Linked DNA regions of Homo sapiens: regions 1, 2, 4, 5 and 6 are each linked to region 3. Evidence: promoter capture Hi-C in 16 types of primary human blood cells and fetal thymus (Javierre and others, 2016). All regions are on one chromosome and are shown on one strand. Each heading gives the region's core, a stretch centred on a gene start or on the middle of the fragment in contact. The rest is flanking DNA. Distances are from core to core; before and after follow the strand shown.

Region 1 (2,817 bases), core at 219-2,718, 400 kb after region 3:
AAAAGCGAAATGTGTTGGGTGAATTTCTCAAATCCGATTTAATTGAATTTTTAAGCCTAAGTCATAATCTGAAAATGCCATGTGATTAGAGCCCAAAGCAGTTTTCTTCCTCTTTAATCCATAGTTCAAGAATAAGTCATTCCTTGTTTTTAAAACCTGTACTTTGGGTAATGGGATCTCTACAGAACATGGGCAAAAAACGCCTTGACATTTCAGGGAGAAAATGGGGCTTTCTTTGAATTAAGGGTACACTCAAGAGTGGTAGATCCTTTGAAGAAGGTATTGTTATTTCCCATAGTTGCCCCCTGAGCAGTGCCTGGCATGCTGGAGGTCTTGGTGTGTATTTATTTAGTGCAACCAATTACGTGAGGCAGTGTATTTGTGGCAGGCCCAGGGGTGTCCCCGTCCCAGACACAGGAGGTTTGGAAGTGGTTCAGGTGTGTGGCACTGATCATTCCTGTTGAAACATGGCCGCTGAGTCCTGAAATCTCACCCTTGGTTTCTGCCTGTGTCACCGGGAGTGCAGTGGTGCAATCACAGCTCAATGTAGCCCTGATTTCCTGCGCTCAGCTGATCCTCCCACCTCAGCTTCCCCAGTGGCTGGGACCACAGGTGTGCACCACCATGCTCAGCTAATTTTTAATATTTTTAGTAGAGACAGGGTTTCACCATGTTGTCCAGTTTGGTCTTGAACTCCTGGCCCCAAATGATCTGCCTGTCTTCGCCACCCAAAGTGCTTGGATTACAGGTGTGAGCCACCGTGTGCGGCCAGGTCCTTTTCTTATTCGAACATGTATTTGCATGTTTTGAAAGAGTGACAGTCACGTCTGAAGGGAAAAGTAAGTGATAAAAGAGTTCTGTAGGAAACACACAGTACTGACAATTGGTGGCTCTAGGAACAGAAGCACAGAGCCATGTGTTGTACACCTTGAGGTGCAGCTCGTTGCTGTGTGCTTAAAAGAAATGAGAAGCACGGCAGTTTTGAAGCTTCACGCTCAAAAAGGAAGCTTTCTTGCTGACCTTTGGTGTTGCCTGCAGGCCGCAGCGAGAGGGCAGAGGTCCTTGCGGCTCTTCTCTAGGGTCCGACGTAGATCCAGACAGGAAAGTCAGTGGGGCATTCTGGACATGTCGTCGCACCAGGCTGCAGAGCTGGACACTGAGGAAACCCCTCCAGAAAGAAAGCCCTACCTCCCGACCCACTGCAGGTGACTAGAGGACTGGGCAGATGCCCTTCAGACCAGACGGAGAGGAGCACTTCTCTGATTCCAAGTAACAACAGCTGCTGTTGAGGAGGTGTAATGAAAACCGCACCTAAGCTCTTCACCCAGCTTCGAAAGCTAGCCTGGATGTTTTCAATCTCAGACGCTAGTCGTGTTTTTTCTCTAAAATTGACAATGGAGAGAATTTTTTCTCACCATCAAGGGAGAGCATCTGTGGATGGTGTCTGAAGAATGATACCATGTTTTGTTCTCCTTATTTTTTTGGAGACAGGGTCTTTCTTTCTCTGTCACCCAGGCTGGAATGCAGTGGTGCATTCCTGACTCACTGCAGACTTGACCTCCTGGGCTCAAGAGAACCTCCCCTCTCAGCCTCCCGAGTAGCTAGGATTACAGGCGTGCACCACCACACCTGGCTAATTTTTGTATTTTTTGTAGAGATGGGGTTTCACCACATTGCCCAGGCTGGTCTTGAACTCCTGAGCTCAAGCGATCCGCCTGCCTTGGCCTCCCAAAGGGCTGGGATGACAGGCGTGTGCCTTCCAGTGCTGCTCCTGGCTTCGGCTTCTTCCCTGGCCCTTACATTGCCAATGTGCACCTCAGTCACCAAAGGCAGGCTTCGCCTCAGCTTCCCAGGATGGCCGTGCCCCTGAGATGATGGCACCAGCCTTGCCAGGGAGCCTCTGATGACAGCCGTTCAGATGATGTCATGTGAAGCTTCCTGAAATTTTCTCTCCCATTAGTCTTTAATCAAGGGAAAACACTTATTTAACAAAATTAATAGATTAAAATCCCAGTCCTTAGAAAAAAAAATCAGTGAAATAGACAAACCGCTAGCTAATTAAGAAAAAAGAATGTACAAATAAAAAGAAACACAAGAATTGCTATTGATAAAAAGGACTTTTTTAAAATTGTAGAACGTAACATCAAATTATGTAAAACATGTAGCATCAAAATTATACATCAATATATATGATTTTAACTGTCAGTGTCCAGTTCTGTTTTATTACATATGTTCACACTGCTGTACAGCTGTCCCAACCATCCATCTCCAGAACCTTTTCCTCTTACAGAACTGACACTCTGTCCCCATGAAACACAAACTCCCATCCCCTTCCTGAGCCCCCAGCACCCCCCGCCCCCACTCCACTTTCTGCCTCTGAATTTGACGACAATAAGTGCCTCATGTGGTTGGGATCCTATGGTGCTTATCCTTTTGTGACTGGCCTGGTTCACTTGGCACGATGTCCTCAAGGTCCATCATGTGACAGCCTGTGTCAGGATTCCCTTCCTTTTCAAGGCTGAGTCATATTCCATTATAAACACACAGTGCATTTGTTACCCATTCATCCATCAGTGGACACGGGATGCTTGACGATGACGAATGCTGTTACGAACATGAGTGTGCACACGTCTTTTTAAGAGCCTGCTTCCAATTCTTCTGTGTCTGTATGGGGGCGTGGAAATGCTGGGTCGCATGGCAGTTCTATGTTTAATTTTTGAGAAACTGTCATCCTCTTTTCCACCGCAGCCACAACATTTGACATCCCCACCAACAGTGCTCAAGGGTTTCTTCCATTTCGCCACATCTTCACCAACA
Region 2 (2,930 bases), core at 398-2,897, 260 kb after region 3:
CAAAAAATAATGAAAGGTGATAAAGAGTTCAAGCCATTTAAATATGGATGTATTAACGTGCTTTTTAATAGAGACCATTTTTCAATGAGTTGCTTGCAAAACATTTTTTTTGGGGAGTGAGTTCTCACAGTTGAATAATTTTTTTGTTTTTTTTTGAGACAGAATCTCGCTCTGTCACCCAGGCTGGATTGCCGTGGCGCAATCTCGGCTCACTGCAACCTCCGCCTCCTCGATTCAAGCAATTCTCCTGCCTCAGCCTCCTGAGTAGCTGGGATTACAGGCGCGTGCCACCACGCCCAACTAATTTTTGTATTTTTAGTAGAGACGGGGTTTCACCATGTTGGTCAGGCTGGTCTCAAACTCCTGACCTCGTGATCCACCCACCTCAGCCTCCCAAAGTGGTGGGATTACAGGCGTGAGCCACCGCGCCCGGCCAGCATTTTATTATACGTACCGTTTTATCATCTCTTCACCCATCCACCAATGCATCTCCTGTATGGACGTCTTGATTGTTAACTCACGGCACTGGACCTCCAGTTTCATGCCTCTCCACATTGCAGGGTCCTCTACGTTGTTGTATCAGTCACCTTTCTAAAATACAAATCTTACCATGTAAATTGTTTCTAAAATCTTTCAATAGACCCCATAGACTCAGAAAAACGTCCCAAAGTCCGGAATCCTGGCCCCTGCCTACCTTTCCAGTTTCATTGCTGGGTCAGAACGCCTCACCTAAGCCCCACATTGACCGATATGGAATCAATGTTTACAGCCGGTGTGTACTTAATCAACCCCCTTCCCCGACTGCGACCACTCAGATGCGCCTTCCCGGGCCCCACACCCCAAAACCCCTGAGCCCTTTCGTCCACAGCTGTCTGACCACCCAGCACCCTTTCCTTTATGTCAAGTATGAGGATTTCGTTTCTTAACCTTTCTCACTGCTCAAAATGCAAACTCAGACATGAGTGCCGGGCGCTATCCGTCCTGCTCACGTCTTGTTCTCAGGGCCGCAAGGCGCAGGGGCAGTAAGGGCCGAGAGCCCATCAGGGTCCGGCGCTGCCCGCTGCCCAGCCGGGCGCGGAGAAGGGGACGGGGGTCCGGGGTCGCGGGTCCGGAGGGTCTCGGGTTGTAGGAAGTGAGGGCTCGCGGGCGCCGCACGAGTGCGCGTGCACGTTAGCCCGGCGCGCGCGGCACTCATCTCACCTCGCGGAAGCACCTGCCGGAGCTGTGTGCACCCTTTCCTGCCCTCAACACAAGCCGTCGGCGTTCACTACTGTAGCTCATTCAGACCCCACTCTCCAACCTACTGTCCAGGCACAGAAACGACAGTTAAGGTTCCCCCGGACCGTACGCTGGACCTTGCCTCCCCGGCTCCTAACGGGAGACGGGCTGCCGTAAAGCTTCGCTTTGCCGACTGCTGCAAAGCGCCTTACGACTGAACCCGGAATCGACCTATGGCCAGCAGTCGTCCCCGCCCTGCTTCAAACATTTGGGTTTCAGGAGCCGGGCGGAGGTGACTGCCGCGTGTTTGCGTTGCACGCCCACCGCCCGAAACACGGCGGCGGCCTCAGGGCTGCTGCGGCCTCGGCGGGGGCAGGCCCCGGCGCCCGCCCGCCTCCCGGCCTCCATCATCCCAGGGTGCACCGCGGCGGGCGCGGGCGCGCGGCCATGTTGCGGTAGTTTGTTGTTTTCTTCCTGCGGAGGCGAAGGGCCAGCTGTGGACCGCGAAGCGCCCGGCTTCGCCTCTGCCTCCTGCAGCCCCCTCCCTTCTCTGTCCTCCGTCACCCGTACCCGGGCCCGGACCAGGCACGTCGGCCCACCAGCTGGCTTGGTGGGGGAGGCTGAAGGCCGGGCCCCGCGAGTGCCATGGCGGCCGCCCTGGGAGCGAGCGGAGGAGCAGGCGCCGGAGGTACGTGAGGCAGCCGGACTCTGGGGGCCAGGACCGCGCCGCGGTGGGCGGGGGTGTAGGCCGGGGGGCCTCCCCGCTTAGGAGAGGACGAGGCTCTCCCCGGCTCCGACTCTCTTTGTGTTCGGCCTATTCCGTTTTCTCCCTCGCCTTCCCTCGCTATTGTCATTCTCCCTTTCTCGCTCCTCCTCTCCGCTGTGCAGATCGTACTTACCTGTGAACTTCTGTGTGTCCTCTACTTTGCAAGGCTGCCTAAGTGTCAGGCCCATCTCTGGCGTTGGCGGGCATTAAGTGCCGAAGCCGGCCTGGTGTCCTATGGGTAGGAGAGCGCCCCCCCCACCCCCCGAGACAGTGTCACTTAGGGAGAGCGGGGCAGGTCGCTGTAGGGTGGGTGTTTAAGATTGTGGGGCCATCCTGACAGATTTAGATTGATTTGAAGCCCATTACAAAAACATAACGAAAAGATTCACCTGTGTGAAGGAATGTGCGACAGTAGGCCAGTTTGGAAAGTGAGATTTCTTGAGAAAGTCTCAATAAATCCCTGTTTTAAATTAACTTATTTGTTGTCTAATAACCTGTTAGTGTTTTATGTGCGTCTTCCAAAAGTGAAAACGTGACACAAAAGGTTTAGATACTGAGTCAGTTCCTTTGGATAGTTTTTCTTGTTTGCAAGCATAAACAGTATTGATGAAACACCTATCTCTAAAAAATTGTAGGTAAATTACTTTCAGGTAAAATTACATATCACTGGGGGTTTTAAAAACGTGGAGAGATACTTGAAAGTGACTTTTTAAGTGATTATTTTGAAAACTTTGAAAAGATGGTAAAATATGGATAACAAAAGCATTTGGGATTAGTTCTTACCATTGAAACGTTGAAAAGCCAGTCTAGTGTATACTCGAGAAGTATTTTTTAGTAAATGCTAGCAGATGGTTACGTTGTTATCATCCTGTTTAGGAATTTTGGCCCAACTGTCAAAACGTTTGCCTGACAAAATGGAAAAACAAAAAAGACTAAGTGTAGGAAT
Region 3 (2,818 bases), core at 272-2,771:
GGACCTTGCTGTTAATCCGACTTACCTGGCTGACACTCTGGCCTAATCCTATTTTCTCCTCGCATTAGAATGACTCTACAAGGCTACGTTTTGTTCTTCGGGAGCACAGTTTACCTGGCCAGTGGGCTGAGGATCAGAGAAGCCTCACCACCTAAGGTGGGGAGAGGGGCTGCAGACTGCCCAGCCTGGCCCCAGCCTGCTGGAGGTCCCAGTGCAGAGCCTGCTTGGCGAGACAGAAAGCAAACGAAATCACTCAAGGGAAACTTCGCTGGAGACAAAACACATTCAATTTCCTGAGGATTCTGCTTTCTCTCAGGAATTATTTGCTTTTGCCGAGGCACATTAAACAAATTAAACACTAAAAATGGAAGCTCCTTTGCTTCCTGGCTCAGAAAATAGTTTTTTTTTTAAAGGATATAGTACGAACAGTAATACAAATGAAAGAAAACAGTAACACTCTAGCTCTTTAAAATAAACTCATGTGGGCACCTAAAGTCCTTTTTGGCAAATTCTTATCTTGTGGGGCAGTGCAGACAATGGGAGCTTGTGCTAAACGGCTGCTGTCACTCTGCTGACATTCCAGGAAGCTTCCACGCAGCTACTTGGGCATCTTTTCACACCTTCACCTTCCAAACCGCAGTCCCTGGTGATCCTGACTTTTGCAGCCTGGCTCTGGGTCCACACGGGGCTGGAGAAGGGGATTCGGTCTGAATGGGTTCGTGGAGGGTGGGGCAGGGGGCTGAGCTGAGGAACGCGCTGGCGAGGGAGTCAGATACTGTTACTTCGTATTTTAGGAATGTATTTCTCCTGCACACCCCTCCCTCCCCTGCCCACCCCCCTCTCCCAGTATCATTGCTCTTTGAAATGTCATGAACTTGGCGCTTTCAGACCAAACCGCCGGGCTCAGGCCCGAGACAATGGGATTGTCAGAGGGCCAGCGCGGAGCTTTTTCTGCGTGTTCACGGAGCGTTAAGCCTTTATCCCACAGAACGGCTCTGTCTGACCGGGTCAGACAAAAGCCAACTTGCATCTTCCGCTCCGAGGGGATCTGGGCAGAGCCCGGGTACAGCCCTGCGCGGCCCCAGGGAGAGGGGGGAGAGGGCGCGTGTCCCCAGCCCTGCCAAGTGGCGTGGGGAGCGCGAGGCCCTCCTCGGTCAGAGCCACCAACTCTGGTCTCCGTGGACATCCCCCTTCCCCCGCCCGCTCCCGAGGCTCTAGGGCGGCCTCCTGGCCGCTGCCTTCTCGCACCCAGGGTCTTCGGCCTGGGCTCCACACCTCAGGCCCCTCAAGTAATCGGCCTCTTGGTGGCCGGGCACTGCCTTTCCGGCTGCTCTCTGCACCCGTCTGCCCCTCCGGCCTCCCCTGGCGGCTACAGGCGTCCGGGGCCCTCGCTCCCCAGCTCCAGGCGTCCCGGGAGCCAGGCGCGCAGCGGGGCGAGTTCTCGTGTCCGTGTGAGCGCGGGCGTGTGTATGCGTGCGCGTGCACGAGCGTGAGTGTGCGTGAGCGTGAGTTTGAGTGTGCATGCGGGTGTGAATGTGTACATGTACACGAATGTGAGTGTGAGTGTGCATGAGCGTGAGCGTGCGTGTGCGTGCGAGTGTGCACGAGCGTGACTGTGAGTGTGCGTGCGTGGAAGCGCGGCGGGGAGCCTGGCTGAAGGCCTGCTGCCTGCATGGCTGTCAGAGAAAAACAGAAGTGGGAGCCTGCTGCGGGCTCCGAGAGGACTTGATGGGAGCCCTGGCGCGCGCTGGGCACCGCGCGGTGAGTGTCGGGGGTGGGGGCCGCGGGTCTCCAGCAGCCCCTGCCCTGTGCGGACCGCCGCCCCGAGGGTCCCTGCTTGCGGGTCCGGGGCTGGGCGTGCCTGGCTCCCCCTTGCCCCCTGCTCCACCGGCAGGATTCAAGGGACGAGAGCTCTGGGCTGCGGAGAGTTGCCCTGGCTGGCCCCGTCCTGCAGCAAAGGGCGGGCGGCGCGAGTGGAGTGTGCGGGGCAGGCTGGGCGGCAGAGGGAGCCCAGGGGAGCCCATGGCATGGCACCGCCAGTGTGGGCTTATGAGGAGGTGCAGGCCGGGACCTCAGGCTGTGGGCAGGACCGCAGGCAGCGGCTGGCAGGCTCCAGGCAGGCTCTGGAGGACCCGGGATTTAGGTATTTATGCAGTGAGAAGGCAGGGGTTTGGGTGTTCTTTCTCCCCTCTTCCTCCTTGGAATTCAATTTCTTCGAAGGGCAGGGGGCAGGCCGGGAGGGAGGGACAGAGAAAGAGGCCGCGAGCCACAAATGCCGCCCCCCATCTGTTCAGTAGGGCTCACTTCCTGAGGCAGGGGTCCCTAGCACAGGGTCTGGGGAAGGCAAGGTGGGGGGTATAGGCTACCCAGATAAGGAGGGACTTGCTAGGTAGTGGCCCTGGGTCTTGAGGGGCTGGTTCCATCCCGATTGGTCCCCTGGTGCCTGGAGGGCTGTGGAGGGTCCCAGGCCTAGAGTTGGGGGCTGAGTGGGAGGACGGGCCTCACAACCTGGGATTTCTTTCCAGCTTCTGGGTCTGGATCTGGGCCTCCAGTCCCCAGCTGTGAAGCAGGAAGGGAGGGAGGGAGCCTTTCTGAGACCCTCCAGCCTCTACCCTGCAGGAAGAGGTGGATGTAACCTTGAGCATAACCTTGAGCAAGTCTTCCCAGCTTTTTAGGCCTCCACTTCCTCACCTGTAAAAGGAGCTGATGGGGGTAGACCATGTCGAATGTTACTTCTGGCTGAAACATTTTTTGTTGTGTTTTGTTTTAATTTGTGCAGAGTTGGACCTACTCTCTCATGGTGCAAATTTATTTCATT
Region 4 (3,048 bases), core at 485-2,984, 490 kb before region 3:
AGCAGACACGCCTGTGCTGTGGTGGTCGGTGATGAGCAAGGTCCCAGCAGGTTGGAAAATCAGCACATGCTCAACGTTTTCTTATAATTAATGATAGCTCCGCTCTGTACTTCAGCCCGGTTTAAATCCCTTTAGGACAACCATCTCCCCGTACTCCCACCCCAGCCCTGCTCCCCTCCTCCGGGCAGTGAGAAGAACCAAGCCAGCACCCACCCTGCCCAGCAGTGTGGCTGGGGCTATCCCGCTGCGGAGAGTGGGACTGTTGTTCTGGGTTGGTGAGAGTGGTGCTGGTGGGCCCTGAGCCTTGCCCCACTGCTTCCCTCTGACCAACACCACATGTTACTACGCACTAGCAGGATGTCCTGGGGCCATCTGTAGCTAGGCAGTAGTGAAAGAGGGGTACCCTTCCCAGAACTGAACTCACTTTCCCACAACCAACCCGTGGCCCGTCCACAACAGCATCAAGTGCTGACCCAGCAGCCTCAAACCTGGGCTCTTCCCAGTAATGCACAGGGATGTCTCTGGAAACTTCTGCCATTTCCTTCCTGCCTTCTGCTCCTTTGGTGGAACAGGTATGACCCAATGGTCTCTTCAGGTCCAACATGAATGAATGGGAGAGCTCCTTGGGGACAGATGACAGGCAGGCACCCTGCCTCCCTCAGAGAGCTCTTGCCCTGGGCTGATCACTGCCTTGGCCTCCAGCATCCCTGCCTGTGGGAGGGAGGGACCACCTGTGGGCTTGATCAGGCAGGGAGAGCTCCAGCCAGAAGGGAGTTGGACCCCAGTGTGGATGAAGAGGGGCAGAAGGACGGGGTTACACCACACTTGAGTTCCCTTGTGAAAGACGTTCAGATTTCAGACTTTTTCAAAGTAAGTGTGGCAGTTGCATGGCAGTGTTAAGCACACTGACCATGGACGCTCCAAAGGTCCATGTGTATGTGTTCATGTGGGCAACTCCCCAAGATATGGGGCGAGCTGAACCCCCCAGGTACAGAGCAGCCTGCATCGCTGCAGGCTCCATGGGTATCAGGGAGCAGGACCCACCCAGGGACACACATGTGGGCACAGCAAAGGCCTTCACAGACACCCCATGCATCTGGAGCCAGGCCCAGCCCCAGGTAAGAGCACGGGAGACGGGGGCCTGAGGCAGGAGGAGAAAGCTTCCTGCCCATATCCTCTTGTACTACTTGATGTTTTAATGACATATCATAGCCTAATGACAGCATTAATAAATACTTCAAAATAAAGATGAATTTCACCCTCCAAAAACATACAAAGAAGGCAGGAAGAGGCAGTCTAGTGTCATAGAAAGATGTAGGTTTTGGGCCAGATGCAGTGGCTCACACCTGTAGTCCCTGCACTTTGGGAGGCTGAGGTGCGGGGATTGCCTTGAGCTCAGGAGTTTGAGACCAGCCTAGGCAACAGAGCAAGACCCCATCTCTACAAAAAGTTTTTAGAAAATAGCCGGACGTAGTCATGTGTACCTGTGGTCCCAGCTACACAGGAGGCTGAAGTGGGAGAATCACTTGAGCCCAGGAGGTTGAGGCTGCAGTGAGCTATGGTAACACCATGGCATTCCAGCCTGGGCGACAGAGTGAGACCCTGTCTGAAAAAGAAAAGAAAAAAATAAGATGCAGGCTTTGAATCCCTGCACGTGCACAGATGGTTCACGGTGCTCCTAGGAGATGGTGGCATCACCGCATTGGCAGTAGAATAATTAGCCATCATCCTATTGGCATCTGGGACCGAATGAGCCCACATTCCAGGCCTCATTCTAAGCACGGCACGGCTATAAGATTGTTTAATTCTCACAAAGTGTCATGAGCTGGAGTCTGTGATTATCCTCCCCACCCGACACACCTGGAATCCGAGGCTCAGGCAAGTTAACCTCCACAGTCACACAGGGAGTAGCCAGGACGCAAAATCTGTGGGGTGGGCCCGTGGGCACCCAGGACAGCACGCAGCCCTTCCACGGGAGTTTCCCACACTCAGAGTGTAACTGAGAGAGCATAGGAGTGTAATGGCGCGATCTCGGCTCACAGCAACCTCCGCCTCCTGGGTTCAAGTGATTCTCCTACCTCAGCCTCCCGAGTAGCTGGGATTACAGGCACGCCCCACCATGCCCAGCTAATTTTTGTATTTTTAGTAGAGACACGGTTTTACCGTGTTGGCCAGGCTGGTCTCGAACTCCTGACCTCAAGTGATCCTCCCGCCTCGGCCTGCCAAAGCACTGGGATTACAGGCATGAAATTCTATTTCTTTTCAGAGCCTGACACCCTGAAAACTTGGGCTGCGGCTCTGTAGTCCCTAAGCTTGTATCCATGTTGCAAATTCAAGCAAGCAGATCCGGACTGTAGAGTGTTGAATGAAGAGCTTCCCAATGTTTTCACCCAGTTCCCACTGAGCATTTGCTGTGCCTGGAGAGGGCCAGGCACCGGGGGCGTGGTGGTGTTTGAAGGCTGGTTGGCTTCACGAATGGGTGGTGCATGTCCACGCTAGGGGAGGCGCCCCTCTGACTGGGACAGCCAGGCAGATCTCCCAGGAGGAAGAGGCACTTCCATCAGGAGTGGCATGGTTAGCAAACCCACTTCATCAACTACAATCCAGCCCCGGACGGGGCCCAGGTTTCACTAAACTCCACACCTTCTGTGCGTTCCCGTCCCCTGGGGAGCGTATACCTGGGAGAGTAATTTCTCCGTGCCTTCCTTGCAGATTTACCCGGACGAAAGCCATTACTTTACCAGCTCCAGCCTCAAACAGCATCTGTACCGGTCCATCATCAACTTCTTCGTGGAATGCTTCAGGATCCAGGACAAACTGCTGACAGTCACAGCGAAAGAGGACGAGGAGGAGGACTAAGCTCAGGTCGCTCTAAGCACAAACGTGGCTCTTTCTACAACCAGATGCAACCGAGGGATTTCCCTGCCCTCCCTCTTCCCTCGGAGGGGCGGGGCGGGGCGGGGCCGGGTGTTCCATAGCATGTGTGTCTCGGATGCGGAAGGCAGTTTTGCTTGGGAAACAAGCTCCTTCCCCGGGGTCATCACTCAC
Region 5 (2,975 bases), core at 245-2,744, 440 kb before region 3:
CGAGAGAAACTCTTCGGGGACACATGTGGTTCATTTCAGGAGGTAGCTAAACTTTCTACAAAGTTAGTACGTAATTACACACTTATTTTTTAATTCAACAAAGTAATTTGGGAGAGCTTCATGGGGAGCAGCACTGAGGTTTAAAGAGCTGAGGATACAATTATCTTCATTTAACTTTCTATGCTAAAATATTTCTTAAAAATAAAGTTGTGCAGCTATTACTATTCAAATATTTCCTTAAATTACCAAATATTTGCTAGATTGACATATGTTGTTTAACTTTTCCTAATGAGACTAAACTCCTAGAGCTAGGATACGCAGTATTTCTTCCAAGTTTCCTCTCAATACCTAGCAGATAGATTAAAAACACACTTTTTGTGAGCTATCAGGTAGATACTTTTAATTATCCTACACAAAGAAACAATCTTGGGATGATTTGGATGGATTATCTATGTCTTCATCATTGGCATTCACATTGCTTGCCATTCTTACTTGCCAGTGTTACAGAATTCAGGGTATACTGAGGTGGCAGCTCGGTGATGGACAGCTGTTCATCTTCTCAATGATCAGCCACCCCTGGTCACTGCACGCTGGAAAAGTACCTAGTGCAAGGGAAGGACCTCCATTTTTTAATTGCACTTTATGTTAACTTCAAAACTGGCATTAATTCAGTTATTGGAAGACACTTAACTATCTTTTGAATAATTTGAGTATATAAACATACATAATATCCTTTTTCAACTCTAAGTGGTGTGAAATCTAAACAGATCAAGTACTTCCAATGAAAATTTCAGAATTGAGATGTTGTCTAAGTGTAAAATATACACTGGATTTTAAAGACTTGGCATCCCTCAAACAGTAAAAATATCTCAGTAATTTCTAAAAATATTGATTACTTCTGGCAGAAGCAATATTTGGATGTATTGTCTACATATTAAAACTAATTTTAAAACATTTATTGTAGCTACTAAAAATGTTTAAATTACACATTGTTCCCATTATATTTCTATTAGATGACACCGAGCCAGATGAAAATAGGATTAAATGAGATTTTCATGTAAGAAATAATTTGTCCGATCTAATCATTTTTTTCTAAGAAGTATTTACTTGAAATCTTTTTATTTTTATATGTTCATCTAAGTCCCTCTTAGTCACCAAATCAATGCTTAACAGCTGTGCAAGCCAGTTGGCTTTAGACAGCTCCTGGAGTTTTTAAGGATCATTTCTTGGCAGCTTTAGAAAAAAAAGCACTAATTGAAAGGTTAATCAAATCAGTCATATTTGTATGTTGGTTATATAAACACCCTGTCTCCACCAAAGATTAAACAGACGCATTATACTCTACCCAGAAGGCCCATTTATTCTGTAATGATTGTCACTTGCCTTCAAGCTTCTAAGTAGTAGGGAAGTACTTTGAATACTTTGCAAATGAAAACTCTATTCTGATTTATGAAATGCTTCCACACTGCCAGGATTCTACAGAATCTAAAATATTTTATAGCAACACCAATTCTACCTGTGGTACACAAGGGGAAAAGGTCAGTTCTACATCTACTCAAAGATAAGTCAGTATCTAAGTTTATTTAAGCACAAAAATATAAGCTTAAAAATAGACATATTTTGAGGCACAATGTTGGTTAAAAAACAGCTCTGAATGTCTGCGACAGCACTGGTCAGCACGATCTAAAGATATTAGCAGTTACTGCCCTGCTCATCTTTAATAAACAGGCGGTCTCCTACCATTTTATCACACCTATGATCCAACAAGACGTGTACTGCAACAGGGTCTGGAAAGAAGCAGGATGGATGCAAGTTCCGTAGCGTCACTGGTTCTCACTGGTTGCGCCTGTGCTTAGTGATTGCAAAATAATCTGAATCCACCCCTGCCTGGGATGGAGTTTATTACGGTGACAAAAAAAATGGCTGGCTTCTAGAAATTATTTCTTGAGGTAAAAATTGACTGGAAAATATTTTGTCTTGAAATTACTTAAAATGTGATCCGGTTTGATGCAAATTATAAGTTATGCAAAAAATGTGGAATAATAAAGGATTACTCAATTCTAAGTTCAAAAGTACATTTATTTAAAATGTGGGCAAGATATCAATATAAAAGAAAACAGAGTATAAGAAATAAAAATAATCAAAGTACAAAACATTTCAAATCTTTAACATCCATAATTTAGAGATAGCAAGGTCTTTATTTACACCATTTTATTTCTAGTTGAAGTCCCGTAACAGTTTTGTGAAAACATTTAAAAACCTGGCAAATGAATCATAAAACCTAATGTGGGCTCTTAAAGTCATATAATACAAAACATAATTTATGTTTCCTCAGAATAAAATTGCACATCTTAAAAAGATGCAGTATATTTATTATATCTGTCTTCCTGCTTCACAGTCTGATCCCCCAGGAAAGCAGCTGGAAAACAAGAGCATGTGAAGGAAGCGCAGCAGCTCCTCGCCAGCCAGACAGCCAGCCCCGCACCGCAGGAGTCGACATGCACGGCAGCCTAGACGCCATCAGTTAAACTTATATGTAGGCTTGTTGAGGAAAACGACTTTCAAACACAAGGCAAAAGAAAAACATGAAACCAAGGGTTCCAACATTCATCATCCAGTTTCAGAGACACCCTTGAAGGAATGCTACAGCCTCTTTCTTACCCATTCAAACCAGTCGCTCTGCTGCATACCCACATCACAGGAGGCCCTCAGCCCCGACACACAGGCTCACTCAGCCCGGGGACATCAGCACCTGTGCCAGCTCCGCAAGGTATCCACCATGCGGCCAGAACTGAGGCCCAGCAATAGCTGAAATGTCCTTTAAATTAACATGTACAACACACAACCCCCAAGAGCTGACATCCCCAAAGCCCCACCACAAATAGCTGACTCCTACTTATACCTGCAGGAGCAGGTAGTGACCTCTGCAATTCTAAACCGTCCACTTTGGGCAAAATTCATCAAGCTATGGATAT
Region 6 (3,100 bases), core at 536-3,035, 420 kb after region 3:
TACAAACTGCAGGCTCCATCCTCGTGGGCTCGTCACTATGTGCGCTTTTAAAAAATATTATTTTCTAATAAATTCTTTGAAGTTAAAAATAACAGTTCTTCCAGTTTGTCCAAAAAAAAAAAAAAAAAAAAAAAAGAAAAGAAAAGAAAAAGAAAAGTGTGTGTGTATGTTGTGTGTGTAACAGTCTTGGCTTCCAAGAATGTGGCAAAATGGTGAATACAAAGGGAATATGAAACCATAAAGACAACAGAGGAGATGGCTGTTACATCGGAAACTAGTTAAATTAAAATAATATATTTTCATATTTTACACTATTTCAAAAATGAAATGTAATTCAGTTAAGTATTGATCTCTCAAAAAATCTAATTTACAATTCTGTGTATAAAAATATAATTTGTGGACCCCCATGAAGCACGTTTGAGTTTGCACTTGCTGAGAAGCAGGAGATGGAAGGGAGGGATGGCGGGGACAGAGGTTTGCTTTCTGACAGCCGGGACGAGGGACATGTAGAAAAATAGACTCTGAGCAGGTTGCTTGGCCTCACAAAATAATCTTTCCCCCGTGAGTACAGTTCACATGATCATAATAAATTATCCAAGAAACAAACTATTTAAGGCTCTTGAAGGTCCGGTTCATATTATTTAAAACATCTATTCATACCAAACAAATAAATAGCCAGGAGAGGAGGAAAAAATAACCAAAATAAAACAATAACCAAAAAAATTCAAAAAATATATATCAACTAAGCACAACAACAAAACTTCCCGGGGTCCTTGTTTCCTTAGAGTCTACTTTGGACTGTCCTACTTTATTATTCTTATTCTTATTATAACTCAGTCTGGTTCGTGCGCCTTTTCCGAGTGTCTTTTTGCTTTGCGTTGCTGTTGCTGCCCCGCCCCGCCCCCTCCCGCGCCCCTCCCCCGGCCCCCCGGCTTCAGCTGGACTTGACCGCCATGCCCAGCGGGTGCAGGGCCTCGCTGTCCAGGAGCCAGGTGCCTATTTGGTAGAGCAGCTGCGAGTACCAGTGGATGCCCGCGGTGGCCCCCGCACCCGGAGCGTCGGCAGCACCTGGAGCGGTTAGGGCTACTCTGCCGCCGCCGCCCCCGCGGTCCCCGCCGCCGCTGTCCCCGCCGCGGTCCGTGCGCGCGGGCGCCAGTGCAGCCAGGAGCGCGTGCGCCAGGCGGAAGGGCGCGAAGGCCCGGTGCGCCCAGCTGTGCTCCTCGATGACCGCGTAGCACGAGGCCAGCACCCGGTTGATGAGAATGGTGCCCTGGGCCGTGAGCGGCGCGTAGGCGCCCGCGGCCTCCTCGCTTAGGGTCACGCTGTGCACAGCGGCGGGCAGGAGCCGGCGGTCCCCGTCACGCTCGGCCACCACGTACACGCGCTGGCCCGGGCGCACGCGGCTGGCGAACAGCGCCCGAGGCCCCAGTGCGCCCCCGGAAGGCGGCCCCGAGCCCGAGGACGCCTCGGGCTCCCCGGTGGCCGAGTCGTTGTGCGGCGCCACAAAGAGCAGGTGCGCGGCGGTGAGCAGCAGGCGCTCGCGCGGCTCCCGCGTCTCGATCACGTAGAAGACCTTCTTGGCGCCGTCGTCGCGGTCCAGGAAAGTGAGGAAGTCGCTGTAGAGCAGCCGGCCCTGGTCGTCCGCCGCCAGCACGCGGTCCCCGGGGCTCAGGTCCTTCACCAGCTTGGTGCCGCCCTGCTCCAGGTGCACCGTGGCCGAGCCCGGGAAGCAGCCTCCCGATTTGGCCGCCACCGAGTTCTCTGCGGGTGAGGAGAAGGGAAAGAAGAGAGGACAGGGCATTGAGTTCCGAGAGGGAGGCGCGTCTCGGGGAGGAGGGCGCACGCTTGGTGCCCGCGCTCCTAGGCCAGGGGTGCGCAAGGCGCGGGGCGGGGCGATTGATTCCAGGCGGGTCCCGCACACACCTCCCTCCCCCAACCCCACTGCCCCAGGGACAGGATTCCGACACATTCCTTAACGACTCTCTAAGTCTGGGCTGGCGGTCACAGAGGTTGGCTGGCGTTTCCTGCAGAGGCCGGTGACACTCTTTCCTTCCGCCTTCCTCCAACCCCACCCCCAGCTCCGCACACACCCGGCCTCGCCGCGAATCCATCCAGAGGGTGTTTGCTCTGCACTTGGATTCCTCAGGAAGCCTCCTTGAGCTCCCGCGGGCGCCGGGCGCACCCTCCTTCCCTCCCGCCCCGGCGCGGGGCGCGGCGCCTGCTCGCGCACTCAGCACCCGGGCTGCGCGGCGGAAACCCCTGGCCCGCCTGCCCGCCTGCCCGCCTGCCCGCAGCACCCTGCCGCGCCTCGGCGTGGGCCTGCGGAGGGGCGGGGGCGGGGAGTGAAAAATAGCTGCAGTAGTTGTAGCAACTGGACAAACATTCCAGAGATTGGCCGAGGTGTGAAAATCCGAGGCTTGTGTGGATTTTCTAATTAAAATCCAATAAAGGGCCCAGCATTGTCATTGTGATTTCTGGGATAAACAGGAGACACTCTTGGAAGGGGACACTTCCATTTTCTCCCCTCCCTGTTCTCAGCTCACTCTCTCCCCAGCTCGCGGGCCTCCCCCTCCCTATTTGCTCAGGTGCAACCCCCCCCCACCCCGTGTGCAATTCACAAGCACTATTTGCACAGCCAGGCCTCTCTTCCAAGCACTCAAGATGTGTATTTGAATTTTAAATGGCGGGGCCTGTTCGGAGCGCTGGAAGCGCCGGGTCTCAAGGCCCCTTGACTACCCGCTTTCTCGAGCCCTCTGTCGCTCTCTGAGGCTCACTGTCCCCAGGACAATAATTGAAGTTGGGGCGGAGCGCAGGGGGCCGGGGAGGAGGGCGGGGAGGGCCGTCTTCTTTGCATTCCAATCTCCGGGATCATGCTTTTTGCAAATAGAGATTGCCAGAAAGAATCTTCCTGCTGGAATTACAGGGGGCTTTTAATCTTCTCATCGGTTTCTCTGGCATGAAGTGCGGGGCTGGCCGTTGGAGGCCCTCCGTAGCCCCCCGGAATGCGACCCCGGGCGCTGGCGAGCCCGAGTCGTCGAGTCGCACGGCCCGGCTTGACACGCTGCGCCCCGCGCCCCCGCCCGTGTGCTCAGAATGCCAA

The links. The method cuts DNA at HindIII sites, captures the fragments that hold promoters and counts their contacts. A CHiCAGO score of 5 or more calls a contact.
Region 1: a fragment that was not itself captured here is called in contact with the fragment with the promoter of LINC03010 in region 3 in 1 of 17 cell types (neutrophils); the score reaches 5.3 in neutrophils.
Region 2: a contact is called between the fragment with the promoter of RBM33 here and the fragment with the promoter of LINC03010 in region 3, in 2 of 17 cell types (neutrophils and M2 macrophages). The highest score is 6.5, in neutrophils.
Region 4: a fragment that was not itself captured here is called in contact with the fragment with the promoter of LINC03010 in region 3 in 1 of 17 cell types (neutrophils); the score reaches 7.5 in neutrophils.
Region 5: a contact is called between a fragment that was not itself captured here and the fragment with the promoter of LINC03010 in region 3, in 5 of 17 cell types (naive B cells, total B cells, naive CD8 T cells and 2 more). The highest score is 6.0, in naive B cells.
Region 6: a contact is called between a fragment that was not itself captured here and the fragment with the promoter of LINC03010 in region 3, in 1 of 17 cell types (neutrophils). The highest score is 6.1, in neutrophils.

What each region holds. Positions count from the first base shown.
Region 1 is chr7:155,783,218-155,786,034 of GRCh38, forward strand. No RefSeq gene overlaps it. Among named protein-coding and RNA genes, the nearest start is that of SHH, 28 kb to the right of the region's middle. The HindIII fragment of the contact is 927 bases long and covers 1,006-1,932 here.
Region 2 is chr7:155,643,014-155,645,943 of GRCh38, forward strand. It overlaps RBM33 (RNA binding motif protein 33), which reads left to right and starts at 1,648. Exons shown (of 18, transcript NM_053043.3): 1 at 1,648-1,906. The coding sequence starts at 1,864. RBM33-DT (RBM33 divergent transcript) reads right to left here and starts at 1,393. Exons shown (of 3, transcript NR_126344.1): 1 at 1,201-1,393; 2 at 455-591. RefSeq lists an enhancer at 587-1,541 and a silencer at 1,466-1,975. The HindIII fragment of the contact is 4,649 bases long and covers 1,396-2,930 here.
Region 3 is chr7:155,380,555-155,383,372 of GRCh38, forward strand. LINC03010 (long intergenic non-protein coding RNA 3010) reads left to right here and starts at 1,522. Exons shown (of 3, transcript NR_147174.1): 1 at 1,522-1,761. RefSeq lists enhancers at 768-1,579, 1,580-2,391. The HindIII fragment of the contact is 8,785 bases long and covers 586-2,818 here.
Region 4 is chr7:154,889,622-154,892,669 of GRCh38, forward strand. DPP6 (dipeptidyl peptidase like 6) reads left to right here. Exons shown (of 26, transcript NM_130797.4): 26 at 2,713-3,048. The coding sequence ends at 2,859. Among named protein-coding and RNA genes, the nearest start is that of PAXIP1-AS2, 37 kb to the right of the region's middle. The HindIII fragment of the contact is 1,152 bases long and covers 1,159-2,310 here.
Region 5 is chr7:154,941,629-154,944,603 of GRCh38, forward strand. It overlaps PAXIP1 (PAX interacting protein 1), which reads right to left. Exons shown (of 21, transcript NM_007349.4): 21 at 2,062-2,536. The coding sequence ends at 2,521. PAXIP1-AS2 (PAXIP1 antisense RNA 2) reads left to right here. Exons shown (of 8, transcript NR_024476.1): 3 at 2,399-2,975. Among named protein-coding and RNA genes, the nearest start is that of PAXIP1-AS2, 15 kb to the left of the region's middle. The HindIII fragment of the contact is 212 bases long and covers 1,389-1,600 here.
Region 6 is chr7:155,801,966-155,805,065 of GRCh38, forward strand. SHH (sonic hedgehog signaling molecule) reads right to left here. Exons shown (of 3, transcript NM_000193.4): 3 at 1-1,761. The coding sequence ends at 935. Among named protein-coding and RNA genes, the nearest start is that of SHH, 8.9 kb to the right of the region's middle. The HindIII fragment of the contact is 9,246 bases long and covers 1-3,100 here.